7 separate regions of the Homo sapiens genome follow, and regions 2, 3, 4, 5, 6 and 7 are each linked to region 1. The links are contacts of gene promoters, found by promoter capture Hi-C in blood cells and fetal thymus (Javierre and others, 2016). All regions are on one chromosome and are shown on one strand. The core of a region is centred on a gene start or on the middle of the fragment in contact, and the rest is flanking DNA. Distances in the headings are between cores, read along the strand shown. Region 1 holds the start of DDX60 (DExD/H-box helicase 60). Region 2 has its middle 8.8 kb from the start of HPF1. Region 3 overlaps HPF1 (histone PARylation factor 1). Region 4 overlaps CLCN3 (chloride voltage-gated channel 3). Region 5 overlaps CLCN3 (chloride voltage-gated channel 3). Region 6 overlaps CLCN3 (chloride voltage-gated channel 3). Region 7 overlaps NEK1 (NIMA related kinase 1).

Region 1 (3,112 bases), core at 317-2,816:
TCCCTCTTATAAAGGCCCTTCTGATGACCTTGGGCCCACCTGGATAATCCCGGGTAAGGGGTAATCTCCTCTTCTAAAGATTCTTATTTAATCTATTTTGCAAAGTTACTTTTGCTATGAAAGTTACTGTATTCATAGGTTCCAGGAATTAGGATTTTGGCCTCTTTTGGAGGGAGGAGTGCAGGGTATTATTCAGCCTACCCCAGGCAGGTACATCAGAGATCACAGTGAAGGAGACAGGAATATTGGCTGATTTAAGACCAATCATGTGTTAAATTCTAGAGTCTTTTATTTTCTTTCTTAATCTCATCACTAACAAACACGTGAATTTCTAAACAAATGAATAAACAAGTAATTGTCTGATGGATGTGAGAAATGTCCTCCTTCCCCATATCCCCCTCTTTTAACAACTTGACTCTCTAATTTTTCACAAGACAAAGTATCATTCACTACTCTCTCTGTTCTGTGTTCCCTGTGGAGCAGTGCCTGGACCTTGGCTCTTTCCTTTCCTTGTAGACAAAGCAGCCTGTGGCTTCTTATCATGCTGATTACCCAAATTCACTGCTGTCTTTCCTCCACACCCTCTTCTATTTCCAATATATGAATGCATATTTATAGCATTAATGAAATCAAGCATACGAGGGCACTGAAAGGAAAGGAGATGAGTATCGAAACCCACACTGCAAGTATCAACAGGCAAAAATTAAGAGAACATTTCATCAATTTGAGGCACAAATAAATGTGACCATTCTGCATTTTCAATTTATTTTTTAATGTTGATTCTTGGCCCATGAAAGTACCAATTACAGTTTATACAGAACAGTAATCATCAGCTTCTCATAACAGAAACTCAAAGTTCATGTATTGTTACATACTTTCTTTTTTCTTTTTGCATACAAGTAGAAGCAGCAAGATCTCCAATTTCATTGTGGGGTTTCAGATTCCACAGTGTCTTTTACATTTTATCAATTTCTAAATTCTAACTCTTCTTGATTTTATCTTGTTTAGATGTTACAAATTTTTCTGCCTCAATTTACTCTATATTTATGCCCAAATTCCAAAGCCCATTTTTATTGCCTTTGTCTCTCTCTTTTAAGGTTTTTTTTAGTTTCATTTTATTTTTAATTGACGCATAATAATTGTATATATTTTTGGGGTACAATGTGACGTTTCAATACATGTATACATTGTGTGATGATCAAATCAGGATAATTAGCCCATCTATTACCTCAAAACTTTACTATTTCTTTGTGATGAGAATATTCAAAATTCTCTCTTCTAGCTATTTTGAAATATGCATTATTGTTAACTATACACACCCTACTGCAGAATAGAATACCAGAACTGGTTCTTCCTAGCTATTGTAACTTCATACCTTTTAACTAACGTCTCGCCATGCTCCCCTTCTTAAGATTCTGATTGAAGGGAAGGATGCTAAACTTTCCACGAAAGTGCCTCGCCTAATTCGTGCTGAAGGGAAACTGAAACCTAAGTGCTTCTGAGAGGAGAAAGGAAACCGAAACTCCCGCCGGATGCATAAAAGACTGGCTGCGGTGGCTCAGAGCGCCGAGTCCTAGGCCAGGTCTGGGGTAACCTGGAACTTCCACCTGGGCTCTGCGCTAGGTCTCTGTTTCACTCCCTCCCCGCGGGGCGCGCAGCTCGCGGGTCTTTGGACACCACCGGTCCTGAGTCCGCGGTGAGGAGCCGGGGATGTCCCTTGGGAAGAGCCTGGGGCGGAGCTGTCTAGCGGGAGTTCTAGGTCTTCTTCAACGGACCGGACAGGGAGGTGGCCCAGGAGTGCTGGGCTCGGGGCGCGGGAATCTGGGGAACCTCCTGGGATCGCAAGGCCGTGGCGCACGGGCCCCCTGCTGGCCCGGAAGGCCGGGCGTGGGGAGGGGCGGAGGAAAGGGACAACCGCGAAAGGCCTGAAGTCTGAGACAGAGAGGAGTGCTTAGTTAGGCATTTAAGGAGTCCCCGTCAAAGGTGGGAGCTGGGTAATGGAGGTTGAGGAGAAATTAAGGGACATCATATCTAAGCACAGCCAGTAAAACCTGTACATTGACAGCAGCAAGAAGCTTCCACCTTCAATCCCTGCTCCAGACTTGTAGAATCAGAATCTGCGTTTATTAATAAGATTCCCCCAGGTAATTTCTGTGCACCCTTAAATTTCAGTGGCTTAAGACAATAGAAATTTATTTCCTACTCCAGTAACTTAATTTATTCCTGGTCAAGGGGCAGGTATAGTGGCTTAAAACATTACAAGTTTATTATTTTACAATTGCTGTGGATCAGAAGCCCAGGCATGGGTAAAGTGAGTTCTCTGTTCAGCATCTCATCGAGCTGAAATCAAGGTGTCAGAGCTGTGGCCTCATGGGACACCATGGATGCTCATTCAGGTTGTTGGAAGAATTCAGTTTCTTGCAGCTAAAGGACTGAGGTTACCTGCTTTCTTGCTGGCTGTTGGCTGGGGGTTCCCATGTCTTTAGATTTCACCCTGAGATCTTAGCTACAGTGGCCTTCTCACAACAAGGTGGCTTATACCGTTAAAGAAGGTATAGGGTACCTTTAAAGAAGGTATAAGCCTCTTTGGGGGAATCTCCCGAGTCTACTATGATGAAGTCTTACATAATATAACCGAATCATTAAAGAGACTATGCCATTAAATTCACAGGTCCTGTCCACACTCAAGGGGAGAGGGTTATACCGGGTACTGGAAGCCATTTTAACCCACCAGCTCTTCTCCAGGCAGGGTTTCAGGAGCTTGATGCCTTTCATCAAGTAGCTCCACCATTCTGTTCCAATACAGAATCCATGATTTCCTTTCCCTTCCCTTGCCCCCATTTTTTTCCTCTTTACCTCCCCTTTGCGCCTTTCCTCTTCCCTCCTTTTTTCTCTTTTCCATTTCTCTTCCTCCCTTCTTCTTTTCTTCTTCCTTTTTAAGATTGTTTGAATCAGAATATGGTTCTGACACTACTGTGATTGGAGGATAAGCCTTATAAGGTTCTTGCAATTTCTTTCATCCCCTTTTAATTTATTCGTTTGTAAGATTTGTGGTCTTATGATTGTTTGTTTTTGTATGTGTGTGTCCTGTTGGGTGTGTGTTTATGTGTGT
Region 2 (3,112 bases), core at 187-2,686, 1.4 Mb before region 1:
ACTCTGAAGGGGCTGAAGACAAGTAGAATGGAGATAAATCAGATAAGCCCTGACTTTTTTATCCTACCATGTGTAGGTTATTCCCAAGCAGCAGTGCCCTTAACTCATGCCAATGGGAAAATAACATATGCTCTTTTTATTTTGTCTCTGTTTATTTATTTATTTTAAAACGTTTTTATTTTACTCTCCTTCCCCACCCCCACCTTATTGAGATATAATTGACAAATAAAAATTCTATATAGTTAAGGTGTACAACTTGATGTTTTAATATACATATATTTTTGTGAAATTATCACCATAATCAAGCTAATTAACATAGCATCACCTCACACAGTACCTTTGTGTGTGTATGTGGTTAGAACATGTAAGATCTGCCCTCCTAGCAAATTTTAAATATGCAATACAATATTCTTAACTGTAGTCACAATGTGGTACATTGTTTTGTTCAATTTCAGACTGCCTTGTTTACAAAGCAATTTGGGAATATGGATTATGACACTAAGTTTATTCCTGTCTGTGAAGCCAGCAGTTCCTCTAAGAATTTAAACTAAGGTAATATTCCAAAATATTTTTTAAAACCTTATGTACAAAAATGTTGACCACAGGGTTATACATAGCAATAAAAAGTTATGACACACAGTAAAAACTTATAACTACGAGAACAGTTACTTTATCAAACATTTGTCCAATGGCATATTTATGTAGCCATTAAAATATTGATGAAGCATTTTTACAATGTTTATTTGTTATTAAGCTTACTTTTTAAGGCCTATTACCAAATTTTATGTGCAGCATTATTTCATTTAACAAACTATAATAAGATACATGTAGAAAAATACTGAATATACCAAATATTGTCTGAGGCTACATCTAGGTGGCATAATATAATTAATTTTCTTTTTATTTTTAGATAGTATTCAAATTTTCTAAAATTATTACTACTTTTTATAGAGACAGGGTCTTGCTATGTTGCCCAGACTGGTCTCAAACTCCTGGATTTAAGTGATCCTCCCACCTCAGCCTCCCAAAGTGCTGGGATTACAGGAATAACCCACTGCACCCAGCCCTAAAATTAAGTATAACTTTATATTCAGAAATTAAACACATAACTTGGAAGGTGAGGAGAATGACCTTATACAAGGCAATTACTCAATAGTAATATCCTGTTGGATCCTTCTAGTAACTGCTCCCTACATTCCCAGCTCCTGTTTCCTTGGCTATTTTCCACAATCTTGATCTCAGTTGCTGCTTTTGATGTTCCCTTGTAACATCACCTCGCAAACTCCTCATATTACCTGAGCTTGCTCTCTACCATATCGCCCTTTGTTGTGTCACTTCTTATTTCCTGGTGGTAACACTAGTCGTTCAGAATTTTTGCTCTGATCAACTCTGTGATAGTCACAGAGTAAAATGATTAGATCAATTCTTTTAAAGAGACTACTCTGGAGCAATGTGTCTGGAAGGTTGGAGTGTGATAAAGACTTACATAATTCTTACACTGCTTCTATGTGACTAGCAGGAATACTGACTGTACATTTATAGGACTCCTCAGTACACTATAAGCTCCTGGAACATAGCAACTGTGTCATCTTGGTCTTTTCAGTGCCTAACATAGTTCTGACACATAATTGGGACTTAATAAATGTTCTGAATGAACAAATAACTGAATGGATGAAAGGATGGGCAAGTAACTATTTAATGATGGTGACTGCTATTCATTAAAGAGGTCGATAAGCCAATTAATATTTACTGAGCACCCATTATGTGCCAGTTTGTGCTCAGAGCTAGATTCTAAGAAATTGTGGTAGGAAAAGAATTGGCGAATCAGCTGGAATTTTCATCCACTGTAAATATGAAGACTGGAGAACCTCTGGGGCCTTTCAAAGATGTGTTTGGATCATCCAACTAGTGCTAATTAAGGGTTACATGGTCCCAGAGTAACTGATCTGGATTAAGCATAATTGGGCAGACCAGTTTCACCACCATTTAGCTGTATAATTTGCCAGAGTCAAAGTGGCCAAAGGTAAGGCCAAGAGTGCAGTGTCAAAGATTAATGCTACAGCTCATTTGCAGCCCATCAATAACAATTGTCTAGGATCAGCTCTGCCTGAAGCTTCTGCTAACTTTTATACAGCAAATTAGAAAAAAAGTTTATCCTTCCCAAATCTGTTTCTTCTGCAATACAATCACCCATATCTCCCAAATTAGGTCCCCCTGCTATGAATAGCCCCTAAAAGAAGTCCTATTTTACAGCCTATTTGGGAATCAGAATCATAAGGCTATGGGGGCTCTGGGCCTTCTCAAAGCTGATTTATCCTCCAGGGTTGGCCAACAGCGTGAGTCACAGGACTCAGCTCAATCCTGACTGCCAGAGTGAATGACTTCCATCATTTAGAACCTTAGAAATTCAATTGGATAAGCCTGTAATTCCTTACACATGTGCTGCTCTATGTGGTTATTCTGCCCTGAATACACGTTAATGCTGAATGTCTGGCTACACTCTCAAGTCCTGGGATCCTAAGTGGCATCTTGTCTTGTCTTTAATTTTCAGCAGCTCTCATAACAAAGGCAGAAAGAAATGCTTAAGAAGCTAGCTATGACATCTATGGCCTTCAAAGTGCACAAAGATTGAAAAAAAAAGAAAAAACTTGTAAAAATATTCTCTTTTTTTTTTTTTTTTTGAGACAGAGTCTTGCTCTGTTGCCCAGGCTGGAGTGCAGTGGTGGGATCTCGGCTCACTGCAGCCTCTGCTTCTCAGGTTCAAGTGATTCTCCTGCCTCAGCCACCCAGGTACTAGGATTATAGGCATAAGCCGAGCCCGGCTAATTGTTGTATTTTTTAGAGATGGGGTTTCACCATGTTGGCCAGACTGGTCTTGAATTCCTGACCTCAGGTGATCCGCCCACCTTGGCCTACCAAAGTGTTGAGATTACAGGCATGAGCCACCACACCCAGTCTAAAAATATTCTCTTTGATCTAGAGCTTAAATTTAGATGAATGCTAGAATCAGACGCTCTTAAAGAATACATAGGAACTCTTGCTTCCATTTTCTGTCTTTTATTAATCCATGTTTCACCAAGGACTACCACCTACATAGCAAATCCAGTAACTT
Region 3 (3,112 bases), core at 162-2,661, 1.4 Mb before region 1:
ATATTGATGGCAAAAATCTTAACCTGTTTATGACAAAATATAAAATTATTTCCATAAGTGGCATTAACATGATATATATTCACATACTTTTGAGAACTACTTTGGATTATGCTTTTGTATAAGCTTACAAAGTAGCTTTGCTTTCCTTTTGTGTTTTCTAAATTTTTCTTAACACAAACTTCAACATTAAAAAAAAAATCTATCGACCTTTAGTGTTATAATAGTGTCCTGTCTCTTTAAAAATGAAAAAAAAAAAAAAAAAAAAAAAAAGGCCAGGGGCAGTGGCTCACGCCTGTAATCCCAGCACTTTGGGAGGCCAAGGCAGATGGATCACCTGAGGTCAGGAGTTCGAGACCACCCTGACCAACATGAGGAAACCCTGTCTCCACTAAAAATACAAAAATTAGCTGGGCGTGGTGGCATGTACCTGTAATCCCAGCTACTCGGGAGGCTGAGTCAGGAGAATCATTTGAACCTGGGAGGTGGAGGTTGCAGTGAGCTGAGACCCTGCCACTGCACTCCAGCCTGGGCAACAAGAATGAAACAACATCTCGGAAAAAAAGACAGTTTTTTGTTTTTTTTTTTGAGGCAGTCTTAGGCTGAAGTGCAGTGGCACGATCTCGGCTGACTGGATGGCTGCAACCTCTACCTCCCGGGTTCAAGTGGTTCTCGTACCCCAGCCTCCCGGGTAGCTGTGAATACAGGTGCATGCCACCATGCCCAGCTAATTTTTGTATTTTTGGTGGAGACAGGGTTTCACTATGTTGGCCAGGTTGGTCTCCAACTCCTGACCTTGAGTGATCCGCCCACCTCGGCTTCCAAAAGTACTGGGGTTACAGGCATGGACCACCATGCCTGGTCCCTGAAAATATATACATATATTTTTTTGAGACGGAGTCTTGCTCTGTGGCCCAGGCTGGAGTGCAGTGGCGCGATCTCGGTTCACTGCAAGCTCTGCCTCCCGGGTTCACGCCGTTCTCCTGCCTCAGCCTCCCAAGTAGCTGGGACTACAGGCGCCCGCCATCACGCCCGGCTAATTTTTTGTATTTTTAGTAGAGACGGGGTTTCACCTTGTTAGCCAGGATGGTCTTGATCTCCTGACCTCATGATCCGCCCGCCTTGGCCTCCCAAAGTGCTGGGATTACAGGCGTGAGCCACTGCGCCTTGCCTGAAAAATTTTTTTGATGTCTACTTTTTTTTGATGTCTACTTTTTTTTCTGTTAGGTCAGACTTCTCCAAAGTAGTATGCCATATCTTAGTATCAAGTGATACAGTTTAAACCTTGACTAATCTCAGCTTTGCAAATACCCCTTATACCTTTATTGTAGACATTAGAGTGCTAATATAAATTTGAATCGTATTTGCTCTTTCTCTGACTGGCAGTTTTTTATGAATATTGCTTTTCTCTTATTTGAAGAAAACTATTAGGGATTTTGAGAGAAGTGTTGGTAATTATTCTGTGGACTTATTCTTGTATGGAATTTGACATTTTTACCTTGGCTCAACTTTGAAAGGTCTTTGTACTTAGTACAGTGGCCTGCCACATAATGCGGACTTTTACTTCTTTTTCAGATTATTTTTGACGAAAAAACTTAGAGAAATAACGGATAAAAAGAAAATCAATCTCTTGAAAAACATAGATGAAAAACTCACAGAAGCAGCCAGAGAATTGGGGTACTCGCTTGAACAGAGAACCGTGAAGATGAAACAGAGAGATAAGAAAGTATGATTTCAACCTGTTGGTCTCTGTTTTGCTATAGCATATTTTTTTCCCCTCTTGATTCCTTCCCATCTCTACTTTACCCTTCTCTTCCCTAGTCCTATCTTAAGAACTGGATGCTGTCCCTTAGGGATGTTAGGAGGATGGCACTGAAAGAGGATGGCACTGAAACAGGGGTCAGATGGCTCCTTTGGGTTGGTACACTGATTGAATTGCGCAACTGGTGATATCACTGCTGTGGTTGAATAACTCATGCCAGTATTTACCACTCTTTTAATCTTGTTTACCATTTAATCACTTCATAAAGTTAAGTGAAAGCTGCTTTGTACATAATGAAATTTACATACATACATTTTCTCCAGTAAACGTGTATATAAGCAGTGCTCCTTTCTTTTTCCTTATTAATCCTATCATTTCCTTTTGCATCTCTCCTAATGTCTGCAATATGAGGGGAGTATTTTGTAAAGGAGCAAATACTTGTTAATGTTGGATTCTTTTGGTTTTTCAGCTATAGATTTCAGAGTAAGTTAATGACAAGCTGGAAGATTTCTGGTTTGGAGTAAATGAGAATTCTATAGGAGTTTGTTCTTATGGCCTCTGGGGAAAAAACAAAAACAAAAAAAAAATTTGTCACTGGAATGAGGGCTCCCCAGTCTCCTCCAGCCTCTCACCATTTGTCTGCCCATGCTGGTTCATCTGAATGTTCTAAGCTAAATGGAGAACTTGCTATTCCTTAATAAACTAGCACTGGTAATGAAGTACCTTAGTGTACTTAGGCATTAAATCCTACTTCAGTTCCTTCTCTGATCTTGATTCAGCTGCAGGGGTGACATTTGTATCAAGTTCTAGGCACTCTTTAGTCCTATAGACTGGAAAGTTTCTTAAAACATACATTTTAATGAAACCCATTACAATATGGCATTTTAAATATTAAGATTTTATATTGCCATTTACCTTTCTGGTTATCACAGGAAGCTTCTTCCACTTTGTGACTAGGAGGAAGGGTAGCATTTGTAACCTAGTTAATGTATTTCTAATTTGTTTTGACTAAAGTCTGAGCATCCGTACACATAATAGCTGTTAGCAAATTATTTAATCAGTCTTTTTTTATTTTTCTACCACAAGCTATGATTTATTTCAGAGGAGATTTTCTTAATTCTTCCCCATAAAGAAGATATGATTGAGGTTTAAATTTCATAGATATTTTTGTCCTAGACCCCTCCCCTATGAAGTTTCATTTTAGTATTTGTTTTTTATACAAAAACAGCTGGTAAAAACAAAGACAAAAAAGAACTTTCAAGACAATCATGTTTTTAATCCTCCCCTGTTAATGACTATACTTTCAAACCCTTTTCTGTTAAATGCAAGGTTGTTCTTTTATTGTTTTTGTGA
Region 4 (3,112 bases), core at 400-2,899, 1.4 Mb before region 1:
CCATCACATGAAGAGAGCAGTAAAATGATGACCAAATCCTCTCAATATTTTCTCTTTTTCATTTATTTATTTATTTATTTTTTGAGACAGAGTCTCGCTCTGTAGCCCAGGCTGGAGTGCAGTGGCGCGATCTCAGCTCACTGCAACCTCCGCCTCCTGGGTCCCCGGTTCAAGCAATTCTCCTGCCTCAGCTTCCCAAGTAGCTGGGATTACAGGCATGTGCCACCATGCCCCAATTATTTTCAGTAGAGACAGGGTTTCACCATGTTGGCCAGAATGGGCTTCAACTCCTGACCTTGTGATCCACCCGTCCCGGCCTCCCAAAGTGCTGGGGATTACAGGCGTGAGCCACTGCACCCAGCCACTTTCCCTTTTTTAACCAAAATTAACCAATTTTTCAAAGATAATTTAAGGATTGCCCACTTGTATCAGAATCTTCATGAAAGCACATACTATTAAGATAAAATGCATATAAAATGGTCAGCACAGAACGTCAATCCCAAACATCAGAGCCCCAAGAACAAATCTATAAAAGAATCCAAGTTTCTAGGACACTTATCAATGTTTTCCTTTTTTTGATTTAGGCCAGGAAAGTTAAGATACAGTGCTTTTATGAAAGTCTTAGTTGTTAATGCTTACATTAAAAGATAGGTGAAAAATCAGAAGGCAGTCCTAAAAGATTATTATAGGTGAAGCAGAAAGCAGAATGAATGAGTAGCTACGATAATATTCTGGTTAGTAGTTTTTTAAAAAAGGATGCATGAAACACTTGTGAAATATTAGCATACACACAGGAATACATAATCAGTTGTGCACTTAAGCAAACTGGGACAGGTTTCATACAGGTATGACAATTGCAGGGCAAAATAATTTCGGGCATTAATTGCTAAAGCCAGACATTTTTTATGTTATGCAGTAAGATAATTCAAATTTGTAGTCATGAAACCACTAGGACATAAAGCCAGTTAAAATGAATGCATTTGACTCTAAAAGCTGCTTATAGCGTTCCAGAAACATCATACAAAAGGGGCACACACATAATCTAGGTACAATTCACTAATGAGATGGCAGGACACACACTGTGACTTTGAAGATATGCAGGGTATAGCAGAAAAAGAACTAATGCTATGATCACAAATAATATACACATTACACTCTAGTTAGTGTGCCCATTAAAAAATCCATTTAACTGTAAGCAGTTCTAATTGCTAAGCTCCTTTAAAATCCTTTAGGAGCTTAGATTTACCATAAGACTACCACAAGATCGGGAAACATTTAAAAAAAAAAAAAAGGGCTTGCGGGGATGGGTCAGACATTTTTAACCAGTCAGGTGTCTTCTGAGACCGGTGTATCCACTGAGGTAGACAGATTTGCCATATTCACTTTAAGAATGTCCAATAATATTCACTTATTCCACTACCAAACTGTTTACAGTTCTGAAATTGTAATGAATGATTTGATGAGAGATGTTAACTTTTGCTTACTTTCTATAAATGGGATTTTACACATATCTAAATTTATCTTACAGACACATTTTATCAGATACAAATGTAATTGGCAGCATAGTAGGATATTTTTGTTCAGCAGATATCTGGGAAAGACAGAACTCAACAGTTCACAAGTTTCATGCTTCCTGACTTCTAAGGTGTCTAATGAGGAGATCTGATATATCTAATCACCAAGGGTTCGACGTGCTGCTTTAGTTGCTCGAGATGCTCTAATATGTTCTTCTTTGTGATGATCCCCAAGACAATCCTGAAACAGATTATTATGCTAATAACTGTGTGAGAAATTAAATTAAAAGAGTTTCCAATCATAATGATAAAGAATGAGAGAAAAAATAAAAACATGAACCATAAGAATGAGTCTCATGAACTTTAGAAAATAAAAACAAAATGATTTAAAGTTCCAGGTTCCTTTTGCATAAATTCTACTGACTTTCAAAAGTGACACAATACTAATCTTCAATATTGGTGGGTTATTTTTCTTTTTAAAGTAAAAATAATAATTATGAAAGTTTGGAATGAAGATGACTACAAAGCAAAGTACAAAAGAAACTTAATATTGATACATAGCTATAGACCTCTGATATGTAGAGTTTCATTTACAATGTTCTTTCCTCAGAGGAAAATATTTTTCTAATTTCTATGATGTCACAACACAGCAGTTATCATCTGGATCTACCTTGGTGAAAAGGTAGCAAAAGGCTGTGAGGAGACTTAAAAACTCCCGTGGATTTTACTATAATTTCAAATTAAAATTAAAGGCAATGTGCACTAAATAAATAATGCTGACCAAAAGAAACACTCCCTAATGTTCAGGAGCTGTGACTGCCACTTCTTAAAGTAAGCTAATAAAATGTATTTATGATTAGGGATTAAAAGGACTTTCACTTTGTGCATTTTTTTCTAAATAACAATTGTTTCTCATTTAGCATGTCACTGTTATCACATCAAGCAAAGTGATGGACATAAATTCTCATAATGAGGATACATGAAAATAATTAGATTGCTAATTAAAACAAAACTATGGTTACTGGTTTTATAATGGAAATTAATGTGGCAATATAAACAGTGAAAATAAAAAAACCTTAAAAAAACTTTAATCTTTAAATTCTGGAAGCCCATCCAAAATACCCTTCAGGATGACTGGACATTTCCTTGATGATCTCATTAAGTCAACCTCCCTGTTAAACTGCCTTTGAACATTCAGACTTGAAGGATGTCACTAGGAGACTTCAAAGTAGCCTGTTCCTATAGCTACGTCCAGGTGTAAAATAGTTACTTAGCTTGATGGCTGGGGTGGGAGGTGGGGGAGCAGGAGGATAGAGAATGGGAATGACAGAAATGGGTTCTCTGCTCATGTTTTCTCATTATTATGTTAAAAATAATGTATCGATCCTTAAAAGTTCTCAGAGCATGGGAGCAACTTCCCCCTCCAAAAAAGCTCAGAAAATGCACTATATATAATGAACATTCACTCATTCAATAGATGTTCTTCATTGACTAAACATTTGAGATTTCTTTTTTTTAAGCCATCAATTCATTTGATTTTATTGTTGTAGTCAGGAAATGTGAAAATCTTGGCAATTAATTAAATATAATACCAATTG
Region 5 (3,112 bases), core at 433-2,932, 1.3 Mb before region 1:
CCTTAGTTAGAGATGATAAGGTGGATATTAAGACATCTGTGTAATTGGAAACAAGTTCCACATTCAATTATTATGTCTGCAAATATGATGAGCTGTACAATACATGAATAAAAAGGTTTATAAAATTTGCTAAATTTCATATTTCATAAATTTATAAAATTTGTTAGAGAAACTAGAGTAAATCCATTTTATGACCTAATTAAAGTTGCAAAGGGCTACAAAGAAACTAGAAATTAAACATATGTTAACTTAAAAACAAGAAACAAAACCTTAAAGTTCAATTTAAACTACCAGTCTCCTGCATAAACGCAAAGCAGAAACCTCGATGCTGGGAAAATAGCCAAAATTACAAACTTAATCAATGCGGCAGGAAATCTGTTCACACTCGGAAATCTTGATACAAAGCATTTCTGACAAGCCATGAGATGGCATAAAATTAACCATACTAAAGTGTCAGCTATTTTTAGAAAATCAAGCTAGAGGTAGTAATATGAACCAGATTTTATTGAAGATTTGAAATTCAGATACTGTGGGAAAAGTACATTTAAAAACAGGCTTTGTTTTATACTACTGTTGTAGAAACAAGGAGTTTCTGACACCAAATAAAGAATCTTTAGTTGTTCCTTTAATTTACAGACACTTAGATGGATTAATTTTTAAGAAGAGGTTTAATTTTCTAGTTGGATAAAATATTAGGGCCAATAAAAATATAATAAGTATCTGAATCCTAAAATCATTTTACAAAGAGCCTGCAGAATGTCCCTCTGGCAATAAGAATATCATATAACACCTGGATTTTCAAATAATGTGCAAAAAATGATACTTTTCAAAGGGAAGAAAAAGGAACAAACCTCTATTATAATAGAAACCCAAAAAAGCTTTATTTAGATACACTGCTGAGCTAATGAATGTCAAGAAATAATTTCAGGGAGAAACTTGAAAAAATAAGACCCCAAACTTTTATTTCAATGGCAAAGCGACACTTTTTGTGGTTTAAGCCCATCATTAGTCCTCTAGGATCTGCCACTCTTCCAACTTCCACCTTTCTACACTACCCTCTCTACTGACTCACAACAAAGCTGCCTTTGTTGTATCAAAACTAATCCAAGAGCAACACACTAGGCATTTCCTCCTGTTATCGCATTTACTCATTTTATTATATCCACCAGGAATGCCCTATTGAGTCCCCTGTGTATGTGAGAACAGTCTACTTTGATAACACTTGTCAAAAGCAGACTAATCTGTTCTTGGGACTTTGGGGGAAGAAGAGATTTCTATCATTTCTATCGTTCACTAGAAATTTACTAACTTCCACAGGATTCTGTCTGTGTTTAAACTTCTTATGCTTCTACCAGACTTAAAACACAAGTTACTATGAAGATACGTGTAGAGAGAAGCAGTTTAGCCTCATGATTAAAGTATGAGCCAAATATCTGGATGGAATTCTGACTTTTCCTTAACAATTCCTTACCTCAGTCTTGTCAACTAGAAAATGGGGATTATAACAGTACCTACTTCATAAACTTGTGATGAGGATTTAAATAATTTCATACACATAAAGCACTTAGAACAAGCCAGGCACAGTGGCTCGCACCTGTAATCTCAGCTACTTGGGAGGCCAAGGCAGGAGGGTTGCTTGAGCCCAGGAGTTGGAGACCAGCCTGGACAACATAGTGAGACTCTCCCTAAAAAAAAAAAAAATTTTGTTTTTTAAATTAGCCAGGCAAGGTGTTGCAAGCCTGCAGTCCCAGGTACCAAGGAGGGTGAGACGGAGGATCTAAGCCCAGTAGTTCAAGGCTGCATTTGCTATAATCACTCCACTGCACTCCAGCCTGGGTGAAAAAGTGATACCTCTCTCTTAAGAAAACAACAACAACAACAACAACAACAACAACAAAAAAACCCACTTAGGACAGTATCCAGCTAACAGGAAATTCTAATAAATATTAACTATTATTAATATTACTATTTTTATAATTCTCCACAGCACCTAGGAGTGCCATATGTGTGTGTATATGTATATATATATATACACATATACGCACACACACACATATATATACACACACACACACACACACACACATATATGCTCACTCTGAATGAAACAATTAAATATTTAAATAATTGTTAAAGGCCCCTCATGGAGTAAATGGAGGCTCAGGCCCAAAAGATCAAATCCATTATAAAGGGTTGGTAGAAGAAAGAAATTTGACCTCTAAAACTACTTAAACATCTTGAACAAATTAAGAAGAAAAAGTGTAAAACTAACAGTCCAGATAAGCCAAGTCTTTTTTCCTGATAAAAAAGGAAGAGACATTTTGAGAGAGCTTGATTGTTTCTATATAGGAAATCTACCCCTAAAGATGGCTATTTCTGAAATGTCATCTTAATTTCTAATCTATCAATAGTATATCAAACTAATTCTAATTTGAATCTACTTATACTTCCAGACTTGACATTATTTACTTAAATAGGAAGCTTCACCATTTACCATCTCGCCTTGAAAAGTAGTATTAAATTCAATTTACTCAACAAAGGTAATCCTTGGCTATAGCACTCAGGGATTTACTAAACAGATCCATGTTTACTTTATTGATATCCTTCACAATTTTATACTTTATCTGCCTCTTCACTATCAGGCTGAAGATCAATTTTAATCATTATAGTTTTGTTCTTCCTCACAGGGAAGCTGATTCAGTTTTTTCGATTTGTTAGCTGCCTGTCTCCATCAATTCCATTGTGTTGACCCATGGCTACAACAGGTCATAAATTATGGACAAAAAATAACATCTTACGCATAGACACTAGGATACTACAGTATGTTTGAGGTAATACAGTACAGTCACGAAAGCCTAATAACTGACTTATCTCTACTACACATACACAATGTTACTTTCAAATAACAATGACTTATATTAATAGAATAAGTCTCATCAAGGGATAAAGAACCTATTTGAGCTGCCAAGAGTGGGACTGATTTAGATCCTAAGCAAGATTCTTAAAGGATTATTTATGAAAGTATAATAGAAATAAAAAGCTTACGTTTAGGTAATATCAGTAACCATGCCTACTCTCACATAAGTTTTGACTTATTTCTTATTATTTGCAT
Region 6 (3,112 bases), core at 417-2,916, 1.3 Mb before region 1:
AACAAATGTCAAACTATTCAATTAATGAGGTCAAAAAGAGAAATGTATTCAGTTTTCAATTTAAAAAAAAATCCTCTCTCCAAGAGTATTAAACTGTTCTTGGAGGAATAACCAAAATTAGCAAATTAAAAAAGAAAAATGTAAATACTTGCTGCTTTGCAACTTTATGAATGTTTTATAGTTATCGCTACCAAAGATGGCATATTATACTGAGATGAGATTTGTTAGAGTATATTAATTAAAACAATAGGAAAGTATGAAAGTAGTTGTTCATACTAAGAAATCTGCAGTTCCATAGAGGCAAACAAATTAAATATTATGTGGCTTTTGAGAAAATTACCAAAAGGCTTTTAAAAACATAAACATTAATAGCTTAAGAATCATTTAATTTTGATGTATCAAAGCATGTATGCTAAGATTTTTGTGAAGAACACAGACACTCTGTTTTTATTTCTTTACAGAATAGAAGGGCTTAATACATATGATAACATTTCAGTGAACATTAGCTAGAGGCTACACAGCACTAAGAAATCTCTGTAAAATCATTAAACCTTTTTATGTGTTAATACTTCAATCAGCAAATTCCAATATATCTCCTCCATTTTATCCCTAAAAGTCTCTCAAAAATCGTAAGTGGTAACTGGAAATTTAACTATTTCCGTTAAAAAAATTAATTTCATAATACCTTTGAGACACCTAGCCTGCAGATCATTCTTTGTAACACAAGCATGCAACTCTGCTCCAAATAAACCAATTAAACCCAGGCCTGCATGGGTTTCTATTTCTATAAATTTGATAACTTAAGATAAAAAAAAAAAACTATTCCACGTATTAACCCAGAAACCTATAGAGCTGTACTGACTGATGCAGCAGCCAGCATACATACGGCTATCGAGCCATTGAAACATGGCTGGTCCAAACTGAAATGTGCTCTAAGTGTAAAATACCTACCAGATTTCTAAGACTTAATATTTAAAAAGGATGTCAAATATTTGACTAGAAATTTTATACTGATTACATGTTGAAATATTTTAGATCCATTGGGTTAAATAAAATATATTTGAAATGAATCTCACCACTTTCTTTTTACCTTTTTAATGTGGCTACTGAAAAATTAAAAATTACCTATGTGGCTTGCATTTGCAGCACTAACACTTTTATTGAACAGCACTGCTATAAAATATTCAAATTTCTATAGTAGCATAAAGGACATATAACAGAAGGAAATCTGAACACTAGTGTTAAATATTTTCAGGTTCTAAACCCAATTCCCAGGCTTGGGCACAAAAGGCTATTTAGACTCTAACACAGCAGATGAAATTTTACATATTTAAAAAAAATAATGCAAAGTCACCTTTTCCATTTTAATCACCAAAAATATACTTATAATCATTTCAAAACATTGTAATAGATACACAGTAGCTTGTAAATATATTCTTACAAAATTATAAAAATTAGAGATAAGCTGGGTGTGGTGGCGCATGCCTGTAGTTCCAGCACTTTGGGAGGCCGAGGCAGCTGGATCGCTTGAGGTCAAGAGCTCAAGACCCACCTGGCCATGGTGGTGAACCCCATCTCTATTAAAAATAAAAAATTAGCCGGGCGTGGTGGCAGCCGCCTGTAACCCCAGCTACTAAGGAGCCTGAGGCATGAAAATCGCTTGAGCCAGAGAGGCGGCAGTTGCAGTGAGCTGAGATTATGCCACTGCACTCCAGCCTGGGAAACAGAGTGAGACTCTGTCTCAAACAAAGTAATAATAATAATCAGAGATAAACTATGAAAACTTCCAGTAATAAGGCCTCGTTTACCTAATAAATTCCTATATTATCTACGTGCAATTATTTTGCTTCCTTCGAATCTGATGACACTGCAGCCAGCACAGTTTTTTTTTCCAAAAAGTAAGTTTGCTCATAATCTCTCTCCATTCCATGTTAACATCTCTTAATCATTTCCTGCTACCCTTAAGAAACAAACTCTTTAATATAGCAGAAAAAGTTCTATGCAGCCCAACCCCTGCTAGTTCCCCAGCACTTTTTTTTTTTTTTTTTTTTTTTTTTGAGATGGAGTCTCGCTCTGTCACCCAGGCTGGAGTGCAGTGGCGCGATCGCTGCTCACTGCAAACTCCGCCTCCTGGGTTCAGGCCATTCTTCTGCCTCAGCCTCCCGAGTACCTGGGACTACAGGCGCCCGCCACTGCGCCCGGCTAATTTTTTGTGTTTTTAGTAGAGACGGGGTTTCACCATGGTCTCAATCTCCTGACCTCGTGATCCGCCCGCCTCGGCCTCCCAAATTGCTGGTATTACAGGCCTGAGCCACCGCGCCTGGCCCCAGCTTCTTTTAATAGCCATTCTGACTGGCGTGAGATGGTGTCTCACTGTGGTTTTGATTTCCATTTCGCTAATCATTAGTGATGTTGAGCATTTTTTCACATGCTTGTTGGCCAGTTGTATATCTTACTTTGAGAAGTATGTACTTCCTGAAGTACTCTAGACTCACTGATCTTTCAATCTCTCAGTCCTATCAAGCTCTTTCCTGACTCCTGCCCCAAGGCCTTTGTTGCTCCCTCTGCCTGGATCATACCCTCTTCTCTTTAACAACTCACTCTCTTAATATTTTGTTGAAGGTTTTTACATCTATGTTCATCAGGGATATTGACCTGTACTTTTCCTTTTTCATTGTGTCTTTGCCAGGTTTTGGTATCGGGGTGAAGCTGGAATGAGTTAAGGAGGAGCCCCTCCTCATTTTTTGGAGTCGTTTCAGTAGAATTGGTACCAGCTTTCTTTGTACATCTGATAGAATTCAGCTATGAATACATCTGGTCCAGGGCTTTTCTGGTTGGTAGATTTTTTATTACCGATTCCATTTTGGAACTCGATATTGGTCTGTTCAGGATTTCAATTTCATCCTGATTTAATCTTGGGAGGCTGTTTCCAGAATTTACCCATTTCCTCTAGATTTTCTAGTTCGTGTTTACAGATGTGTTCATAATAGTCTCTGGGGATCTTTTGTATTTCCATGGGATTGGTTGTAATGTCACCTTTGTTGTTTCTGATTGTGTGGTGATTTGGATCTTGTCTCTTTCTCTGTTAATCTAGCTAACGTCTGACAAAGGT
Region 7 (3,112 bases), core at 447-2,946, 1.3 Mb before region 1:
TTTTTTTAATTTGTGAGGGAGTTTAGTACTTTGTATATGCGTTTTTCGGGCATTTTTTCGCCCCGTCATTTGCATCTCCAGTCTTTTGTCCACTTCTTATTTTGTCTGCCAGTACTTTTCTCAGTGATTTGAATAACTTTTGCATCTTAGAGAACTAGCAATCTATCATTTATGTTGCAGGTATTTTCTCAAATTATTATTAAACTTGATTATATGTATTTTGCTCTACAGTTGTTTTAAATTGTATGTAGTCAACTTTATCAGTCTTTTTCGTATGACTTAAGCATTTTATGTCATGTTTTGAAAGTCCTGCTTTAGTCAATTATTACAGATAATTAACCTATGTTTTCTTTTATTATTTTTTTTTAGTTTAAAAATGCCATGTACTTGGAATTGTTTTGATGTTAACAATGAGATAGAAATTAAGCCTTTTTATTTCCAAGTGGCCGTCTCCAGAGAAGAGTGTTTATATATAATAAATGTGGGAAGAGAAAAAAAGTCAGAGATGTCTTCCAAATTTCCAGCTTGATTTTTTTCCTTTTGTGATTTTTATATTTTTAAAAAGCATTATAGAGGTCAGATGCAGTGGCTTGTACCTGTAATCCCAGTACTTTGGGAGGCCAAGGCAGGAGGAACACTTGAATCTCAGGAACTCCTGAGACCAGGAGTTCAAGACCACTAGCCTGGGCAACATAGTGGGACACTGTCTCTGTAAAAAAAACAAAAATAAAAAACTAGCTGCTCGTGGTGGCATGCACCTATAGTCCTAGTCCCTCGGAGGCTGAGGCTGGAGGATCATTTAAACCCAGGAGTTTGAGGCTGAAGTGAACTATGATAACACGACTGCACTCCAGCCTGGGTGATAGAGCAAGACCCTATCCCTAAAGAAGTGGGGGGGGGGCGTTATAGAAAAAAGATGTATTAAAAACAAAGAAGAATCACCTGTTTGTCTTAATATTATAAAATATAAATTATTTGCATTTTCACTCATAAAGTTACTTTCCATGTTTGTTTTGATTTATAAGAGATGACCCAGTAACATCTCTTACATTTTGGATTTAGTATGTGCAGAGCTTGTGTTGACTTGAATATCTATTTAATGTCAGTGCCTACAAAGTTAAAAGAAATTGTAGCCTAAAATATCTTTTTAAGGATTTAGTTCCTCTCATCCCTAAATATTCTTGAATTCTTTTAATGGTCAAAGAGAGGCTTGACAGATCTGATTTTTCTTCCTAGATTTTGGACTGGTTTGTACAGATATGTTTGGCCCTGAAACATGTACATGATAGAAAAATTCTTCATCGAGACATTAAATCTCAGGTATGTTATTCTGTCACTGATAACTTCTGAATGGATAAAGACATGGAACCTTCATTGTTTTGGGCCAAAAATTTTTGAACCTGATTTAGTGTGCATCAGATTATCTGTCTTGTCTCTTCCTTTTTATCCTATTCATCTGCATCCTGTATTAGATCTCCTGCTTGCTTCCCATACTCTAAAAATTACTTTCCTTCCCAGTCTCTGAAACTTACAGAACATTTTTTATAACTCCAAAAAGAACCTCGTACCCATTAGCAGTGAGTTCCCATTCCTCTCCACCTAGACTCTGGTAACCCTTAATCTTTCTGTCTGTGTGGATTGGCCTATTCTGGACATTTTATATAAATGGGTATTATGAAGTATGTGCCTTTTGCCTGTCTGTCTGTCTGTCTGTCTGTCTGTCTATCTATTGTTTTTGAGACGGAGTCTCGCTCTTTTGCCCAGGCTGGAGTGCAGTGGCGTGATTTCAGGCTCACCACAACCTCCGCCTCCCAGGTTCAAGCGATTCTCCTGCCTCAGACCAACGAGTAGCTGGGATTGCAGGCACCTGCCACCATGCCTGGCAATTTTTTTTAGTTTTAGTAGAGATGGGGTTTCACCATGTTGGCCAGGCTGATCTTGAACTCCTGACCTCAAGTGATCTGCCTGCCTTAGCCTTCCAAAGTGCTGGGATTACAGGTGTGAGCCACTGCGCCTGGCCCCTTTTGCCTACTTCTAAGTCATACTATTTGGTTTTTTTTGTTGTTATTGTTGAGTTATGCAAGCCCTTTTCTTGATAAAAGTTTTTTCTCAAATATATGATTTGTAAAAATTTTCTCTCATTTTATGGATTGTCTCTTTTCTTGATGGTGTCCTTTGATGCACAAAAGTTTTTAATTTTGATAGTCCAATTTATCCTTTTAATTTTTTTGCTTGTGCTTTTGACGTCATATCTAAGAAACCATTCCCTAGCCCAATGGCATGAAGATTTATTCCTATGTTTTTCTCTAGGAGTTTTGTATTTTAGTTTTGATATTTAGATCTAGACTCCATTTTGAATTAATTTTTGTTTATGATTTGAGGTAGGGGACTTCATTTATTCTTTTGTATGTGAATATCCAGTTACTCTAGCACAATTTTTTTAACTGGATTTTAAATTTTATGAAAAATGTTGACTTAGAACTGGACTGTAACAATATTTCTAGGGTTTTTTTTTTTCCTGTCTTTTACAGAACATATTTTTAACTAAAGATGGAACAGTACAACTTGGAGATTTTGGAATTGCTAGAGTTCTTAATAGGTAACATGAATTTTAAACTTTGTTTTGATATAATGTTTTCAGCGAACCTTCAATCCATGATGATGTATATGTGATAATTTATGGTATCTTTAAGTACATTCTTTACTGGGATGTTGCTTTATTGGGACATGTTCTGAGAAAGGCATCATTAGGTGATTTTGTCAGTGGGTGAATATTATAGAGTGTACTTATACAAACCTAGATGATAGAGTGTGCTACACAGGCAGGCTGTATGGTGTAGCCTATTGTTTCTGGGCTACAAACCGGTACAGCATGTTCTGTACTGAATACTGTAAGAAATTGTAACACAATGGTATATATTTGTTTAAACATAGAAAAGATACAATATAAAAGATAAAACATGATATACCTTTATGGGACACTTACCATGAATGGAGCTTGCTGGACTGGAAGTTGCTTTCTGTGAGTGAGTGAGTGGTGAGTGAATGTGAAGACCTAGCACATTTCTGTATGCTACTGTAGAGTTTATAAACACTGTACACTTCGGCTATA

The links. Contacts are between HindIII fragments. The CHiCAGO score rates a contact against its expected background, and 5 or more counts as called.
Region 2: a contact is called between a fragment that was not itself captured here and the fragment with the promoter of DDX60 in region 1, in 4 of 17 cell types (activated CD4 T cells, total CD8 T cells, non-activated CD4 T cells and 1 more). The highest score is 9.8, in activated CD4 T cells.
Region 3: a fragment that was not itself captured here is called in contact with the fragment with the promoter of DDX60 in region 1 in 1 of 17 cell types (non-activated CD4 T cells); the score reaches 5.2 in non-activated CD4 T cells.
Region 4: a fragment that was not itself captured here is called in contact with the fragment with the promoter of DDX60 in region 1 in 4 of 17 cell types (total CD4 T cells, naive CD4 T cells, naive CD8 T cells and 1 more); the score reaches 7.7 in total CD4 T cells.
Region 5: a fragment that was not itself captured here is called in contact with the fragment with the promoter of DDX60 in region 1 in 4 of 17 cell types (total CD4 T cells, activated CD4 T cells, naive CD4 T cells and 1 more); the score reaches 7.7 in total CD4 T cells.
Region 6: a contact is called between a fragment that was not itself captured here and the fragment with the promoter of DDX60 in region 1, in 7 of 17 cell types (naive CD8 T cells, activated CD4 T cells, naive CD4 T cells and 4 more). The highest score is 12.6, in naive CD8 T cells.
Region 7: a contact is called between a fragment that was not itself captured here and the fragment with the promoter of DDX60 in region 1, in 7 of 17 cell types (total CD4 T cells, naive CD4 T cells, non-activated CD4 T cells and 4 more). The highest score is 8.0, in total CD4 T cells.

Annotation. Positions count from the first base shown.
Region 1 is chr4:168,317,206-168,320,317 of GRCh38, reverse strand. It overlaps DDX60 (DExD/H-box helicase 60), which reads left to right and starts at 1,566. Exons shown (of 38, transcript NM_017631.6): 1 at 1,566-1,696. RefSeq lists an enhancer at 1,303-1,632. The HindIII fragment of the contact is 2,588 bases long and covers 1-2,077 here.
Region 2 is chr4:169,765,224-169,768,335 of GRCh38, reverse strand. No RefSeq gene overlaps it. Among named protein-coding and RNA genes, the nearest start is that of HPF1, 8.8 kb to the right of the region's middle. The HindIII fragment of the contact is 1,359 bases long and covers 757-2,115 here.
Region 3 is chr4:169,740,568-169,743,679 of GRCh38, reverse strand. It overlaps HPF1 (histone PARylation factor 1), which reads left to right. Exons shown (of 8, transcript NM_017867.3): 5 at 1,573-1,723. Among named protein-coding and RNA genes, the nearest start is that of HPF1, 16 kb to the left of the region's middle. The HindIII fragment of the contact is 2,572 bases long and covers 126-2,697 here.
Region 4 is chr4:169,716,435-169,719,546 of GRCh38, reverse strand. All of the region lies in intron 12 of CLCN3 (chloride voltage-gated channel 3), which reads right to left. Among named protein-coding and RNA genes, the nearest start is that of HPF1, 40 kb to the left of the region's middle. The HindIII fragment of the contact is 5,857 bases long and covers 1-3,112 here.
Region 5 is chr4:169,662,100-169,665,211 of GRCh38, reverse strand. All of the region lies in intron 2 of CLCN3 (chloride voltage-gated channel 3), which reads right to left. Among named protein-coding and RNA genes, the nearest start is that of CLCN3, 43 kb to the right of the region's middle. RefSeq lists a silencer at 980-1,274. The HindIII fragment of the contact is 1,603 bases long and covers 881-2,483 here.
Region 6 is chr4:169,631,662-169,634,773 of GRCh38, reverse strand. The region is part of intron 1 of CLCN3 (chloride voltage-gated channel 3); the gene reads right to left. Among named protein-coding and RNA genes, the nearest start is that of CLCN3, 13 kb to the right of the region's middle. The HindIII fragment of the contact is 6,464 bases long and covers 1-3,112 here.
Region 7 is chr4:169,588,934-169,592,045 of GRCh38, reverse strand. NEK1 (NIMA related kinase 1) reads left to right here. Exons shown (of 36, transcript NM_001199397.3): 6 at 1,237-1,320; 7 at 2,532-2,599. Among named protein-coding and RNA genes, the nearest start is that of NEK1, 22 kb to the left of the region's middle. The HindIII fragment of the contact is 5,060 bases long and covers 1-3,112 here.